3 separate regions of the Homo sapiens genome follow, and all the other regions are linked to region 1. The links are contacts of gene promoters, found by promoter capture Hi-C in blood cells and fetal thymus (Javierre and others, 2016). All regions are on one chromosome and are shown on one strand. The core of a region is centred on a gene start or on the middle of the fragment in contact, and the rest is flanking DNA. Distances in the headings are between cores, read along the strand shown. Region 1 holds the start of PABPN1L (PABPN1 like, cytoplasmic). Region 2 overlaps ACSF3 (acyl-CoA synthetase family member 3). Region 3 overlaps ACSF3 (acyl-CoA synthetase family member 3).

What was found. Contacts are between HindIII fragments. The CHiCAGO score rates a contact against its expected background, and 5 or more counts as called.
Region 2: a contact is called between a fragment that was not itself captured here and the fragment with the promoter of PABPN1L in region 1, in 4 of 17 cell types (monocytes, M1 macrophages, fetal thymus and 1 more). The highest score is 7.4, in monocytes.
Region 3: a contact is called between a fragment that was not itself captured here and the fragment with the promoter of PABPN1L in region 1, in 8 of 17 cell types (M1 macrophages, monocytes, erythroblasts and 5 more). The highest score is 8.6, in M1 macrophages.

What each region holds. Positions count from the first base shown.
Region 1 is chr16:88,865,410-88,870,416 of GRCh38, forward strand. PABPN1L (PABPN1 like, cytoplasmic) reads right to left here and starts at 1,251. Exons shown (of 7, transcript NM_001080487.4): 1 at 943-1,251; 2 at 397-532; 3 at 154-221. The coding sequence starts at 1,197. The HindIII fragment of the contact is 14,417 bases long and covers 1-5,007 here.
Region 2 is chr16:89,148,759-89,153,765 of GRCh38, forward strand. The region is part of intron 10 of ACSF3 (acyl-CoA synthetase family member 3); the gene reads left to right. Among named protein-coding and RNA genes, the nearest start is that of LINC00304, 8.0 kb to the right of the region's middle. The HindIII fragment of the contact is 8,507 bases long and covers 1-5,007 here.
Region 3 is chr16:89,125,963-89,130,969 of GRCh38, forward strand. All of the region lies in intron 7 of ACSF3 (acyl-CoA synthetase family member 3), which reads left to right. Among named protein-coding and RNA genes, the nearest start is that of LINC00304, 31 kb to the right of the region's middle. The HindIII fragment of the contact is 1,442 bases long and covers 2,171-3,612 here.

The sequences.
Region 1 (5,007 bases), core at 1-2,500:
GCCCAGGCCAGTGTTTCCTCAAGGTGACGGGGCTGCCCCCAGGGTCAGACCCCCTTCCCAGCAAGGCTGCCTGGCCCATGGCCGGGCGCCAGACCCTCTGGTAGAGATGGGGCCCCATTCGCTGCCTGCCCCTTCACCCCGCCCACCACTCACGTTGCCCACGTAGACGGATCTGTGGTCAGCCTCCACCTTCTCCTCGGGGGTCCCAGAGAGGGGGCAGCCTGCGGAGAACACAGCTCAGGCCCGCAGGCCCTTGGTTCCTTCCTCACTCCTCTCACGGGGAAGGTCGCCCAGGCTTATAGGGGAGGTGACACCTTGGAGCCTGCCAGGCCCAACCTTAATGGAAACTGTGGGACCCTTGCTCAGTGGGGGGCGGCCTGTGCCCTTGGTTCCTACCCACGGTCTCAGGGCTCAGCAGCTGCCCGGCCGCGGTGCCCTCCTCTTCCTCGGCCTGTTGCTGCACTCCTGGAGGCCGTGGCGTCCCCTCGGCCTGCTCCATGGCACACACCTTCATCTTGATGGCCTCCAGCTCCTGCCGACACACGGCCCTGAGCCGGGCAGGCAGCCTGCAGGCTCTGCTCAAGGAAGGTGGGTGTGTGGCCTGCCAGCTCCAGCAGAGGGTCACAGCCCCAAGGGGCAGCCCTTCTCTGGACAGGGACACTCCTTCCTGGGGCAGCTGGCTGGGGATGAACTCGCCCCTGCAGAGAAGCCCCCGAAACCGCACCTCAAGGGCCCTTCCCCAGGCGAGAGAGGCCACCTTGACCCTGCAGTCTGTGTGGCTGGGGGCGGGGGGTCTCCTTGCCACCTTCGTCCAGGCAGGTGGGCAATGGCCCTCTCCCCTCCTAAGTCAGCTGCAGCCATCCGTCACCCAGACCCCGTGTCTCCACCAGCCCCTGTGCCCCAGGTCCCCTGAGATCCCCAGGGCCTCCACACAGCTGTTACCTGGTCAGGCAATGGGCACTCAGCCAGGTTCTCTTGCTCCAGCAGAGACAGCAGAAAGCCTGCATCCCCATCCTGGTCTTCCTCTGCATCCTCTTCCTCCTCTTTCTCCTCCTTCCCTTCCCCACCCTCTGGCCCCAGAATCTCCTTGGTCTCGTTCCAGGCCCCCCAGCCCTGGGCCTCAGGGTCTGAGGAGACCGTCTGGAGCCAGGCCTGAGTCGGGGGTGGGAAGAGAGAGCGGCTCGGGAAGGGCCACATGGTAGAGGGGCAGGAGGAAGGTGGGCCAGGCGAGGCCTCCCCTCCACTCCCCTCGCGTCCGCACCTGCCCAGGCTCTCCTGGAGTTTTAAGCCCTCCCCTGAGGCCAGCTGCTCCCACTAGAGCATTTGCAAAGGCTGAGTGGGGCTGAGCTTCCAGCCTTGGCTCCCGGCCCCGCCCCTTCCCTGTCACTCGGACAGGTACCTCCAGGACACTCTCCCTGGAGGAAGGAGAGGCTGAGTTGAGTGGGGGTCACCGGTCTCTTCTGCTTCCGCCTGGCCACGCTGTGGCTCACTGGAGCCTTGGTCTGTGACAGGGTTCACACCTCAGCAGCATCCACACGGCACGAACGCCACACTGCATGAACACTCGATCTAAGTGGGAACACGGGAGTGGTTTCTTCTAGTACCAGGGACCAAGCAGGCTGGAGAGGTGGCTTCCGACCAGGAGAGGCAGGGCCTGAGCAGAGACCGAGAGCAGGTGCATGGGATGAGAGGGCCGAGGCAGGTTGGGGCGGGGTCCTGGGCCCAGAGGAGGGGCAGCAACAGCTGTCTCTGCATCCTGACCCCCATGGAGTCCCCAGGGACCCTTGCCTCCCTAACCCTTATTCTGGGCCTTTTTTTTTTTTTTCTTTTTTTTTTAGGCAGGAGTCTTGCTTTGTTGCCAAGTCTGGAGTGCGGTGGCGCGATCTCGGCTCACGGCAACCTTTGCCTCCCAGGTTCGGGTGATTCTCCTGCCTCAGCCTCCTGAGTAGCTGGGATTACAGGCACCTGCCACCATGCCCAGCTAATTTTTTTTGTCTTTTTAGTAGAGACAGGGTTTCACCATGTTGCCCAGGCTGGTCTCGAACTCCTGACCTCAGGTGATCCGCCCGACTCGGCCTCCCGAAGTGCTGGGATTACAGGCGTGAGCACCGCACCTGGTCTGGGTCATCTTTTAGGTGGGAGCCACTTCCATGAGGCCAGAATTATTCTGCTGTGGGGCGGGGGCTCCGTGGGGAGTGACGGCGTGAGTTATTGTGGGGCGGGGTCTCCGTGGGGAGTGACGGCGTGAGTTACTGTGGCGGAATTCAGTGGGCATCCGGTGGTGTCTGCACCTGGCTTCACCCATGCAGGGTTGCAGCAGGAGGTGACCCGTGTCCGCCCTTGCGCCTCCCTCTGCACCTGCCACCGCGGCTGCTGGAGTCTGCTCTGGCCTTCATCTCCAGTGCTGCCGTCTCCCACCCACTCTGTGAAGGACTCGGGGCCAGGGGGTCATGCATGGCTCTTACCCCTGCCATTGGTGGTGGGAGACGGGGCCCCCTGCACAGCTCCTACCCCCAGGCCGAGGCCATCCTCTCTGTGACTGCACCCCGGTGTTTAGCCAGTGGGGCTGGGATTCCTGGGAATTTGGGACTGGGGGAGGAGAGAGAGACAGGGCGTGGCCTAGGCTGGAGCTGCACTGCTGCACCATGCACCACCCACGCAGGGCGGCCCTTCCTCCATCTTGGGCTGGGGGCTCGGGGAGCAGGTGGACATGGAGGCTGCCACAGCCTGGGAACCCAGGCTCCTGCACCCAGTCTGTTCTCACCTCTGTAAAAGCCAGAAGGTGTCTGAGATGGGTCTCAATCAATCAGTTTAGAGGTGTATCTTGCCAAGGTTAAGGGTGCACCCAGGAAAAAGAAACACGAAGCCACAGGCAACATCTGTGCTCTGCTTTTTCCAAAGAGGGTTTGGAGGCCGGGCATGGTGGCTCACGCCTATAATCCCAGCAGTCTGGGAGGCCGAGGTGAGCGGATCACTTAAGGTCAGGAGTTCAAAACCAGCCTGGCCAACATGGTGAAACCCTGTCTCTACTAAAAATACAAAAACAATTAGCCAGGCATGGTGGCGGGCGCCTGTAATCCCAGATACTTGGGAGGCTGAGGCAGGAGAATCACTTGAACCCGGGAGGCAGAGGTTGCAGTGAGCCGAGATCGCGCCACTGCACTCCGGCCTGGGCGACGGAGTGAGACTGTCTCAAAAAACAAAAACAAAAAAACCCAAAGAGGGTTTGGAGACTTTTATACTTAAAGGGAAAGAGCGGGCAGGAGGGGAACACAGGAAGGAAAGAAAAGGGAGGGCGGATAAAAGGCAAGTGGTAGCGTTCCTTTGAATCTCTGATTGGCAGTCACCAAATGCACATTTTGAAATGTGGAAGGTGGGGGTAGAGAAGAGAATTACGTAGCCCCACGCTCAGCGACTCTGCGTTTCCACAGAAGATAAAACTGCCACAGGGAATAGGAAGCTGGCAGGTTCGCATTCGCCTCCGGTGAGCGGAGGGTAACGTTAGCTCTGTCCTTTGTCCCATACCTGGGAAGATAAGCTGCTAGATCACACTATCTGGGTGGGATCCAGCAGAACTGTTTCAGAGCCAAGATCTTGGGACCCACAAGGAATTTCCCTGTAAGCGCGATGCGAGGAGGCACAGGCTTCTTCATCTTCGTGGCTGTCCAATTAGGAAGAAAATGGGAGGCAGGTGTGTGTGATTCGGCTCCCAGCTTGACTTTTCCCTTTGGCTTAGTGCGTTTTAGGTCCCGAAATTCTGTTTTCTTTTCCCACCTCCAGGAGGCTGACTGAAGACCATGCTGTCACCCCATCTGTTCACCACCCAGAGGATTTTCTGGGGCAGGCTCATGAGGTCGGGGAGGAATGGGCCTTGTCTGGAACCTGGCTATGGCCCTGGACGCCCCTTCCCCTCTCCCTGGCTCCGCACAGCCACACACTTACGTGTGCGTGGTCCCTGGACGCTGTTCCCCCTGCGAACACGGTGCCACTGTTTCCGGGAGGGCTGCCGGGCTGCTCCTCCTCCCTCGAGAGCCGCTGTCCTCACGCCTTTCCTGCTGTCCGTCCAGTGTTGATGACTTGGCCAGCTCTCCCCTTAGAAACCAAAGCTCCTCAGGGGCAGCGCCCACATCTGCACCGAGGACAGGTACGCTGGGTGGAGTGCGGCCTCAGCCTGGGATCCTCCTGTTGGGATGGAGCCCCCTGCCCCGTGTGTCTGTGCCTGTGTGTTGGAGGGTCTGCCAGCACCCGTGCCTCCACCTCCCTGTCAGAGGCAGGATTGCAACCAGTTCCATCCAAGACCAGAGTCTGCTGGACTCGGCCCAGGCCCTGACGCATGCCCCTCTGAGCTCGGGCCCCGGCCATGGAAAACCTTGTCATCCTCACCCTGTCTGAGATTGCTGACACACAAGGCCCGGCCAGGGCTCCTGCCAGCTGCCTGGCAGGGGACAGACGGCTCCGACCCTGGCCTTTCCAGTGACACTCTTCAAATACACCCTGTTCCAGAGCCGGGCCTGAGGATTCATGGCAGCCTGGCCCCTGGGGCCCCAGCGCCCAGGACAACTCCTATTCCAGACAGGATCCGTGTGTGACCCAACACCAGGGCCCCATGGGGGTGGCTGAGAGGGGCAAGCCGTCCCTTCCTGTGCTGTCCACCCTCAGGTCCCCTGTGTCCCCTCAGTTTTCATTTCTTTTTTTTTTTTGAGATGGAGTCTCACTCTGTTGCCCAGACTGGAGTGCAGTGGCACGATCTCGGCTCACTGCAACCTCCACCTCCTGAGTTCAAGGGATTCTCCTGCCTCAGCCTCCCAAGTAGCTGAGATTACAGGCACCCGCCACCACACCCAGCTAATTTTTTGTATTTTTAGAAGAGATGGGGTTTCACCATGTTGGCCAGGCTGGTCTTGAACTCCTGACCTCAGGCAATCCACCCGCCTCGGCCTCCCAAAGTGCCGGGATGACAGGCGTGAGCCACCGTGCCTGGCCTCCCCTCAGTGTTGTCTGTGTCCC
Region 2 (5,007 bases), core at 1,193-3,692, 280 kb after region 1:
AGAGCAACAGGGATGCAGGGGCCAGTGTCCCTCAGGGCAGTGGCCCACAAAACCATTCTTCCCTCCGAGGCCTCCAGGCCTATGATGAGAGGCACTTCCATGAAGGTCTCTGACACGCCTAGAGACATTTTCCTCATTGTCTTGGCGATTAATATTCAGCTCCTCTTTACTTACGCACATTTCTGCAGCCAGCTTGAATTCCTCCCCAGAAAATTGTTTGTTTGTTTGTTTTCTACCATGTGATCAGGCTGCAAATTTTCCAAATTTTATGCTCTGCTTACCTTTTAAATCTAAGTTCCGGTTTCAGGTCATCTCTTTGCTCATGCTTAACAAAAGCAATCTTTGCTCCAGTTCCCAATAAGTTCCTCATCTCCCTCCGAGTCTACCTCAGCCTGGACTTCATTGTCCATATCGCTATTAGCATTTTAGTCACAACAATTTAACAAGTCTTTAGGAAGTTCCAAACTTTCCCTCATCTTCCTGTCTTCTTCCGAGCTCTCCAAATCGTTCCAGCCTCTGCCTGTTACCCAGTTCCAAAGCTGCTTCCACATTTCCAGATGTCTTAACAGCAGTGCCCCACTTCCCTGTACCAGTTTTCTGTGTTAGTCCAGTCTTGCATTGCTATAAATGAAGCCAGATTTTTCTCAGCCACTTTGCCAACCGGGGACCTCCGTGGCTGGTGACACCCCCAACCCAGGCCTGCCACAGAAGGCACCCACACACTCGACCCACTGGGCCATGCTTGGCTTATGCACTGGCTCAGCCCACCTGTGTTATAGCTTATACCTGCATTCATCGGTTCCCAAGTTCTTGTCCCGCGTCCAAGAAGAATGAGGTTACACTGACAATTCAAAGGGTGAGGAGAGTGGAGAAGAATTTTATTGAGCAATGAAACAGCTCTCAGCGGAGAGGGTATGCGAGGGTGCTGAACCGCCCAGAGTTGGGTGTGGCTGGGTCTAGGGCTTTTCTGGGCACAGAATGGGGAGGGGCAGGCTGTAGGTAGCACTGGAAAAGGTAACCTTTGGTTGGTTAAAAAGCATTATTCAGAAAGAACCAGTGGGAAAGAGTGGGCAAACAGGAATAGAAGTTCTCACTCCAGGCTGCAGGTTTCAGGCTGTTTTTGGCTTGAAGGTGGGGTTTCACCAGGGACCCACCCCTGTCTATCTGGGCATTTGACTGCTTCCTGTTGCTTTCATAAGGAACTACCCAAGATGGTAATTTATAAAGAAAAGAGGTTTAAGTGGCTCACAGTTCCACAGGCTATAAGGAAGCATGGCTGGGGAGGCCTCAGGAAACTTACAGTCATGACAGAAGGGGAGGCAGGCATGTCCCACATGGTGGAGCAGGAGGAAGAGCTCACCTACAGCAAATTATTTAAGACCGAGCATTTGTCTCTGTTCTGTTCCCTCTCTGGACGCACCCTCCTGCCTCCACCCTGACTTGCCGTCTCCTGAGCACTGAAGATATTTTTGGCTTGTCCGATGTGACTCCACAGACAGCAGAAACGCTTGCTTGATCAGGGCAGCATCAGGGCACCACACATGCCTGGGCTTGCACAACACAGCGGGAGCACTGCCACTCAGCAGCAGCTGCTGCTTTCATTAAACAGTTACCTTGAGAAGAAAAGATAGGTGTCGAGGGCTGAGAGCTGTGCTAGAGTTTCAGGGTCCGAGTTGGCAGGAACTGAAGTCCCGATGCTCCTCAGCCCTTGGCTGTCCTCAGGGCTGCCCTCTGCGTGGGGACACCAGGCCGCCCCTGCCCAGGGACACCAGGCCGCCTGCTCCTGCTCTGTGCATCTCTCACATCAGGCTCCTCACCCAGCATTGTTTGGGCTATGACAGTGGCTGTGACAAGACCCTAAGACGGGAAGCTGCGTGCAGGGCACTTGAGGGCCCGCTGAGGAGAAGCCGCCTGTGAGGGACAGGACTGGGCAGGGAAGGCCACCAGCCATGCGGTCACAGCCCAGGACTCCGCCAGTCCTGCAGGAGCCCTGGAGCCAGGCCCTTGCTGTCCAGGCCACTTGCTGTACCTGGCCCACAGCTACCTCCCCTGCAGCCCTGAGTCCTGCTTGCTGTGCCCGGCTCAGGCTGAGACTGCAGTGCTTGTCCATTCACCATGAAAGAAAGAAGAACAGGAAGGGAGGCAGGAGGAAGTAAGTTAGAGGATTAATCCAAATGTTCCAACTGTCTAATGGGAGTTCCAACAAGAAGATATCCAGGGAGGAAATTCACAGTCAAATTTCCCCAAACCAAAGGTCATGAGTTTTCAGGTTGAAAGAACACCCAACCAAGAGGAGAGAAAACAGCATTCTAAATATCGGAAGGAAACGAAACCTCGCCTCAGGCATGCGGGCTCTGACGGGCAGGATGGCGGCACGGAGGGCTGCTGTATCCAGTGAAGTCAGCAGTTCAGATGAAACAGATAACTCCCTTAAAAGACACAAATTGCCAAGACTGACGCAAACACTGAAACAGACTGAACAGTTCTGAGTTACCAATTTAAAACTGCAAAGCAAATAGCAGGCCCAAAAGGCTTCACTGATAAATTATCTCAAACATTGAAGGCAAAAAATAAAACCAGACACAGCAAAGTAAGTCTCTGATGAAACAGAGTGGGGAGGAACACTTCCTAACTCCCCGTATGGGACCAGCACTACCCTGAAATCAAAACCAGACAAGAAAACGAGAGGACAGTGTTCCCAATGGGCAGACACACAAAATCCTAAACAAAACGTTAGCAAATTAAATCCAGTTAATGCACAAAAAGACAACACGTCATGATCAAGCAGCATTTAAGCCAGGAATAGAGGGTTACTTTCATATTCAAAAATCAGTCTGTGTAATTCACCATATATTTTTTTTTTTTTTGGATGGAGTCTCGCTCTGTCGCCCAGGCTGGAGTGCAGTGGCACGATCTCCGCTCACTGCAACCTCCAGCTCCCAGGTTCAAGTGATTCTCCTGCCTCAGCCTCCTGAGTAGCTGGGATTACAGGTGCGCACCACCATGCACAGCTAATTTTTGTATTTTTATTAGAGACGGGGTTTCACCGTGTTGGCCAAGCTGGTCTCGAACTCCTGACTTCAAGTAATCCTCCCGCCTCGGCCTCCCGAAGTCCTGGAATTACAAGCGTGAGCCACTGGTAATTCACCATATTTACAGAATGAAGAAGAAAGATCATATCATTTCAATAGATACAGAAAAAGCATTTGCAAATGTCAAAACCCTTTTATAACAAGCACTCTTAGCAAACTAGGAGAAGAAGGAAAATCCTTGAACCTGATGAGGGAGTCTCTCAAAAGCTACCAGATGACATCCTGCTCGATGGGGAGCTGCTGGGCGTTTTCCTCCTGTGACCAGGAAGGGGCGCCTGCCCTCACCACTGCCACCCAGTCTCATTCAACACAGAGTTTGTCCCCTGTTAGAAACCGAGACGTTGGTTACACGTGGAGGTTGGGAGTGGCTCAGGCAGGCAGAGGGGCTTCTGGGAACCTGGCCATGTTCCCTTTCAGTCTGGGCGCTACTTAGAGCAGGGGGCAGTTGCTTCAATAAAACTTTAGATTCCCACACAGGCCAGGCGTGGTGCTCACACCTGTAATCCCAGCACTTTGGGAGGCCGAGGTGGGCAGATCACCTGACGTCAGGAGTTGGAGACCATCCTGGCCAACATGGTGAAACCCCGTCTCTATTAAAAATACAAAAATTAGCCAGGCATGGTGGTATGCGCCTGTAGTCCCAGCTAGTTAGGAGGCTGAGGCAGGAGAATCGCTTGAACCCGGGAGGCGGAGGTTGCGGCAAGCCGAGACTGCACCACTGCAATCCAGCCTGGGCGACAGGGCAAGCCTCTGTCTCAAAAGAAAAAAAAATCTACACATCCCTCACCACACTGTACATAGGACAGCTGGGTGTAAATTACATCTCCATTTAAATGCCTGTCATAGTTTTATACAACTATAAAATATATACGTGCCAAAATAAATTTGATAGGAACATTGGAACCAGGTAAGGTGACGCATACCTGTAGCACTTCGGGAGGATCCTTTGAGCCCAGGAAGTCGAGGCTTCAGTGAGCCATGACTGCACCACTGCACTCTGGCCCAGGCAACAGTGAGATCCTGTCCTAGAAAGAAAAGAGAAAAAAAGAAAAATGCGATTTGGAAATGTGGAGGTCGAGGTTGACAGCGACACCGAGGTCGAAGCCAGTTGCCCCTGGAGAGCGAGAGACTGGGCTGGGCCGACTCCCACCTCTGTCGCGAGAGGCCTACGGGCAGGGGCAGGTGGGCAGGGGGACTGTGCTGGGTCTCTGGCCGCGTCTGGACGGCAGGCGACACTTTCTCCACAAAAAGCGTCAAGAAACCACGACACTTGGTTTCTGGACTTTTCCGCGGAACAGTAACCAGAACAATCGCCATGAAGGTTCGTTTCTGTCATGGCTCAGTGCAGCCTGGACGCCCTGGACCAGCCCCTCCTGCGCCTGGGCCACGGCCGCTGCCTTCAGGGCATCACTGGTGGGCGGCACAACCATCCTCCCTTTGGGGGGTTAATTTCATTTCTTTCCTCCCTTCTTTAATGGTGAATGGAGGAGCACCGAGCACCACTGCAGTCTCAGTTTCAGATCCCAGCGCCTCGTCCCTGCCCACTGCCCTCGGCCCCGCCCGCCTGCATTGGCAGTGCCCTGGCCCCACCCACCCGTGTCAGCACCGCCCACCGCCCTGGCACCACCCACCGAGTTCTCGCCCATGAGGAAGGGGGACCCTGAGTGGAGGTTTCAAACCTTAGGGGCCGTCCCTGCCGTGCAGGGCTCTGTGAGGCCTCTTGCCACATAGGCTTGTGTCTGCAGGACTGTGCGGCATTTACTCCCATCTCAAATACCCCATACAGGGCAGACTGCCCCTGCCCCACCTGCCCACCCACTCCCCAGCCTCTTCCGCACGCCTCCTCTGGAAGGGGAACGGGCCACAGAGTGAAATGGGGCCTTCCAGCTCCAGTGCGGGGACTTGGAAGGCCTGG
Region 3 (5,007 bases), core at 1,642-4,141, 260 kb after region 1:
TTTACTTAGATCCGCAAACACGGTATATCTCTCCATTTACTTAGATCCGTGAACACGGTATGTTTCTCCATTTACATAGATCTGTGAACACGGTCTGTCTCTCCATTTACTTAGATCAGTGAACATGGTGTGTCTCTCCATTTAGATATACTTTGGTTTCTTCTGTGTTGTATTCAGCATATAGATGCTGTACTTGTGTTAAATTTATAAGTAAATGTTTCTTCTTTTCTTTATTCCTCCTATTTCTTCTCCTCCTTTTCCTCTCCTTTTTAAACTATTGTAAGTATGGCAGGTGGGTATGGGGGGAGAGTTGTTTGTTTTTTTGAGACAGAATCTTGTCCTTTCGCCCAGGCTGGAGTGTAGTGGTACGATCTCAGCTCACTGCAACCTCTACTTCCTGGGTCTAAGTGATTCTCATGCCTCAGCCTCCCCAGTAGCTGGGATTACAGATGTGTGCCACCACACCTGGCTGATTGTTGTATTTTTAATAGAGGCAGGGTTTCACCATGTTGGCCAGGCTGGTCTCAAACTCCTGACCTCAAGTGATCTGCCCGCCTCGGCCTCCCAAGATGCTGAGATTACAGGCATGAGCCTCTGCACACAGTCACGTTTTTGTTGCTGTTGTTAGTTTTCAACTGTTCATTGCTAGTAGGTAGAAATAGAATTGATTTTTGTGTGTTGGCCTCAAATACTTTAGTTGTTACCTTGCTAAATTAACTTACTAGTTTTAGGAGATTTTAATAGACTTCTTGGGAATTTCTACAAATACAATCATGTTTTCTGCAAATACAAACAGTTTTATTTCTTCCTTTCCAACCTGTATGACCAAAGCCCTGACTAGGACTTCCAATACGATACTGAACAGAAGCAGTCCGAGTGGACCTTCTTATTTCTGATCTTAGGGAAAGGATTCAGTCTTTCAGCAAGTGTGTTAGTTACTGGCTTTTTGCAGATTCCATTCTATCTATAATGTGCTTAGACTTTTTATCACTAAATGTATGTTGAATATTTTCAAAAAGCTTTTCGGTATTGATGGACTTTTCTTTATTAGGCTGTTAATATGGTAGATTACATTGAACCAAGCTTTCATTCCCAGGACAAACCCCACTTGGTCCTGGTGGGTCATTTTTTTATATATAGTACTGGATTTGATTTGCTAGCATATTGCTGAGTATTTTTGCATCTGTATTCATAAGAAATTTTGGTCTGTAGTTTCCCATTTTTGTACTTTCTTTGGGTTGTGTTTGAGGGTGATGCTGGCCTCATTAAATGAGTTGGGAAGTGTTCTCTCCTCTTTTTTTTTCTGGAAGAGATTGTGTAGAATTGGTATTATTTCTTCTTTCAATGATTGGTGGAATTCACCAATGAAATCATCTGGGCCTAGAGGTTTTCTTTTCTATTATTATTATTTTGTGTGTGGGGGATAAGGTCTCGTTCTGTCACGCAGGCTGGAGTGCAGTGGTGCAATCATAGCTCACTGGAGCCTTGAACTCCTGGGCTCAAGTGATCCTGCGTCAGCCTCCCAAGTAGCTGGGACCACAGGCATGTGCCAACATGCCCAGCTAATTTTTTATTTTTATTTTTGTAGAGTTGGGGGTCTCACTATATTGCCCAGGCTGATCTTGAACTCCTGGCCTCAAGTGATTCTCCCTCCTCGCCTCCCAAAGTGCTAGGGTTACAGGTGTGAGCCACTGTGCCCTACCAACGTTTCTTTTTTGAAAGAAAAAGAACTATGAATTCAATTTCTTTAGTGCTTATAGGACTGTTCAGGTCATCTGTTGCATCTTGGGTGATTTTTGGTACATATCATTTTTGAGGAATTGGTTCATTTAATCTGTTAAGTTTCTTTATGTAGAGTTTCCCTTCAGGCCACGAAACCATTAAAAGGTTGATTAAAAGGTTAATAAGGGAATTCCCATCTTAACCTTTTAATGGTTTCAGGGCCTGAAGTTATGTGGCTCCCATTCCTCATGTTGGTAATTTGTGTCTTCTGTTTCTTTTTTCTTTGTTATCCTTGCTAGAAGTTTATCTGTTTTATGGCTCTTTTTTCAAAGAAGTCACTTTTGGATACATTGATTTTTCTTTACTGTTTTTCTGTTTTCAGTTTCACTAGTTCTTGGTTTCTTCTACTTGCTTCTGGCTTTTCTCTTTTTCTAGTTGCTTAAGGTGAAGCTTTAGATTATTGATTTGAGACCTTTCCTCTTTATAATGTGTACATTTAATGACGTACGTTGCCCTTAAGCATTGCTTTAGCTGCATCCCCAAATTTATATATAATATATATATATTTTTTTCTTTTTTCTTTTTTTTTTTTTGAGACGGAGTTTCGCTCTCGTTGCCCAGGCTGGAGTGCAATGGCATGATCTTGGCTCACTGCAACCTCAGCCTCCCAGGTTCAAGCAATTCTCCTGCCTCAGCCTCCTGAGTAGCTGGGAGTATAGGCATGCGCCACCACGCCCAGCTAATTTTTTGTATTTAGTACAGATGGGGTTTCACCATGTTGGTCAGGCTGGTTTCGAACTCCTGACCTCAAGTGATCCACCCACCTCGGCTTCCCAAAGTGCTGAGATTACAGGCATGAGCCACCACGCCTGACCTAAATTTTGATATATTTTTATTTTCATTTAGTTCAAAATATTTTTAATGTTCCTTAAGACTTCCTCTTTGACTTGTGGATTATTTAGAAGTATAGCACATATTTTCCAAATAGTTGGATATTTTTCCATTATCTTTCTGTTACTGATTTCTAGTTTAAGTCCATTACAGTCAAAAGACGCACTTGGTATATTTCAATTCTTTTAAATTTGTTAAGTTGTGTTTTGTGGCCCAGAATGTGGTTTCTTTTCAGGAATGTTCTGGTGTACTTGAAAAGAGTATATATTCTGCCCAGGCGCAGTGGCTCACACCTGTAATCCCAACACTTTGGGAGGCCAAGGCAGGAGAATCACTGCCCAGGAGTTTGAGCCCAGCCTGAGCAACATAGTGAGACCCCATCTCTACAAAAAGTTGGAAAAAAAAAAATAGCTGGGCATGGTGTTACATGCCTTTGGTCCCAGCTACACAGGAGGCCGAGGCGGGAAGATCGCCTGAATCTGGGAGTTTGAGGCTGCAGTGAGCTGTGATGATGCCACCGCACTCCAGCCTGACAGAGCAAGAGTGTGTGTCCTGCTCGTTTTAGGAAATGTCTGTTCTGTAAATTAGATGAAGGTGTTTGATCGTGTTGTTCAGTTCTTCTATATCCTTGCTGGTTTTCTCACCACTTGTTCTGTTACTAAGTGAGGGGTTGAATTTTCCAACTATAACTGCCTGTTTCTGCTTTCAGTTTTTGCTTCATATATTTTGAAAGTCTGTTGTTTGGTACATTCACATTTATAATGATTGTGTCTTATTGGTGAATTGACTCTTATTAACATTTAATGCTCTGGTAATGCTCTTTGCTCTTAAGTTTACTTTGATATTATTATAGCTATTTTAATTTCTCGGTTGGAGTTTGCATGGTATTTATTGTTCTATCCCTTTACTTCCAACCTACCTGTGTAATTGTATTTGAAGCAAGTTTCTTATACACAGCATACAGTTGGATTATGTGTGTTTTTTAAATCCAGCCTGACAAGCTTTGTAATTGGTATGTTTAGACCATTTACATTTAATGTAATTATTGATGTGCTTGAATTTAAGCCTACCATTTTACTATGTGTTTACTATTGTTCCCTGAGAGTTTTATTGCTCAACTTTACTGCCTTCTTTGAGGTTATTTTTTCATATTCCATTTTAATTTGTCTCTTAAGTTTTTGACCATAAATGTCTTTGCATAGTTTTTTTAGTAGTAGTTCCAGAAACTACAATATACATACTTCCTTTTTTACAGTCTACTTAAAGTCAACATTTTAACACTTCCAGAAGAATGTAGAGCCACATCCCTGCCTCCACATCGGTTACTTACCCTCTGCCTTTAGAGTGTAGTCAGTGTAATACCTGTATTTGTTGTAAACTCCGTTAGACAAAATGGTAATTTTTGCTTTCAACAGTCAAAAATATTTCAGAGAACTTGAGAAGAAAGGAACTCAACTTCATTCATCCAAATATTTGCCACTTCTGTTGCTTTTCCTGTATTCCCAATATACCAAGTCTCCTTCTGATACCAGTTTCTTTCTGTCTGAAGGACATTCTATAGGAATTCTTTTAGATCAGATCTGCTTGCAACAAATTACCTTATTTTTCCTCATCTAAGAATGTCTTTATCTTCCTTCCTGAAGGATATTTTCATTGGATTAGGAATTCTGGGTTGACAACTATTTTCTTTCAGCACTTTAAAAATATGATTCTTGGCTGGATGTGGCAGCTCATGCCTATAGTCCCAGCACTTTGGGAGGCCAAGGTGGGAGTGGATCACCTGAGGTCAAGAATTTGAGACCAGCCTGGCCAACATGGGGAAACCCTGTCTCTACTAAAAATACAAAAATTAGCCAGGCATGGTGGCACACACCTGTAATCCCAGCTACTTGGGAGGCTGAGGCTGGAGGATTGTTTTAACCTGGGAGGTGGAGGTTGCAGTAAGCCGAGATCATGCCATTGCACTCCAGCCTGGGTGACAGAATGAGAGTCTGTCTCAAAAAAATACTACTAATAATATAACTCCACTTCTTTCCGGCCTCCATTGTTTCCGTGGAGAAATCAGTGGGCGCAGGAACCCTTGTTCCTCTCTGTGTGTCAGTGATTGGATTATGATGTGTCTGGGCTTGGACATCTTTTGGTTTGTCCTGTTTGGGATTCTCTCAGCTTCTTTAGTTTATAGGCTTATGTTTTCACCAAATTTTGGGTTTTTAGCCAAATTTTATCAAACGACTTTGTGCACCTAAGTGTTATCTTTTCTTCTGTCACTCCAGTAGCATGAACGTTAGCCCTCTGTGTGTTGACTTTCCTGGTGATTTTTCTCTGCTGTTCAGATTTTGGGTCATTTCTGTTGCTCTGTCTTCAAGTTGTCACGTTCGTTTCTTCATCGTCCTG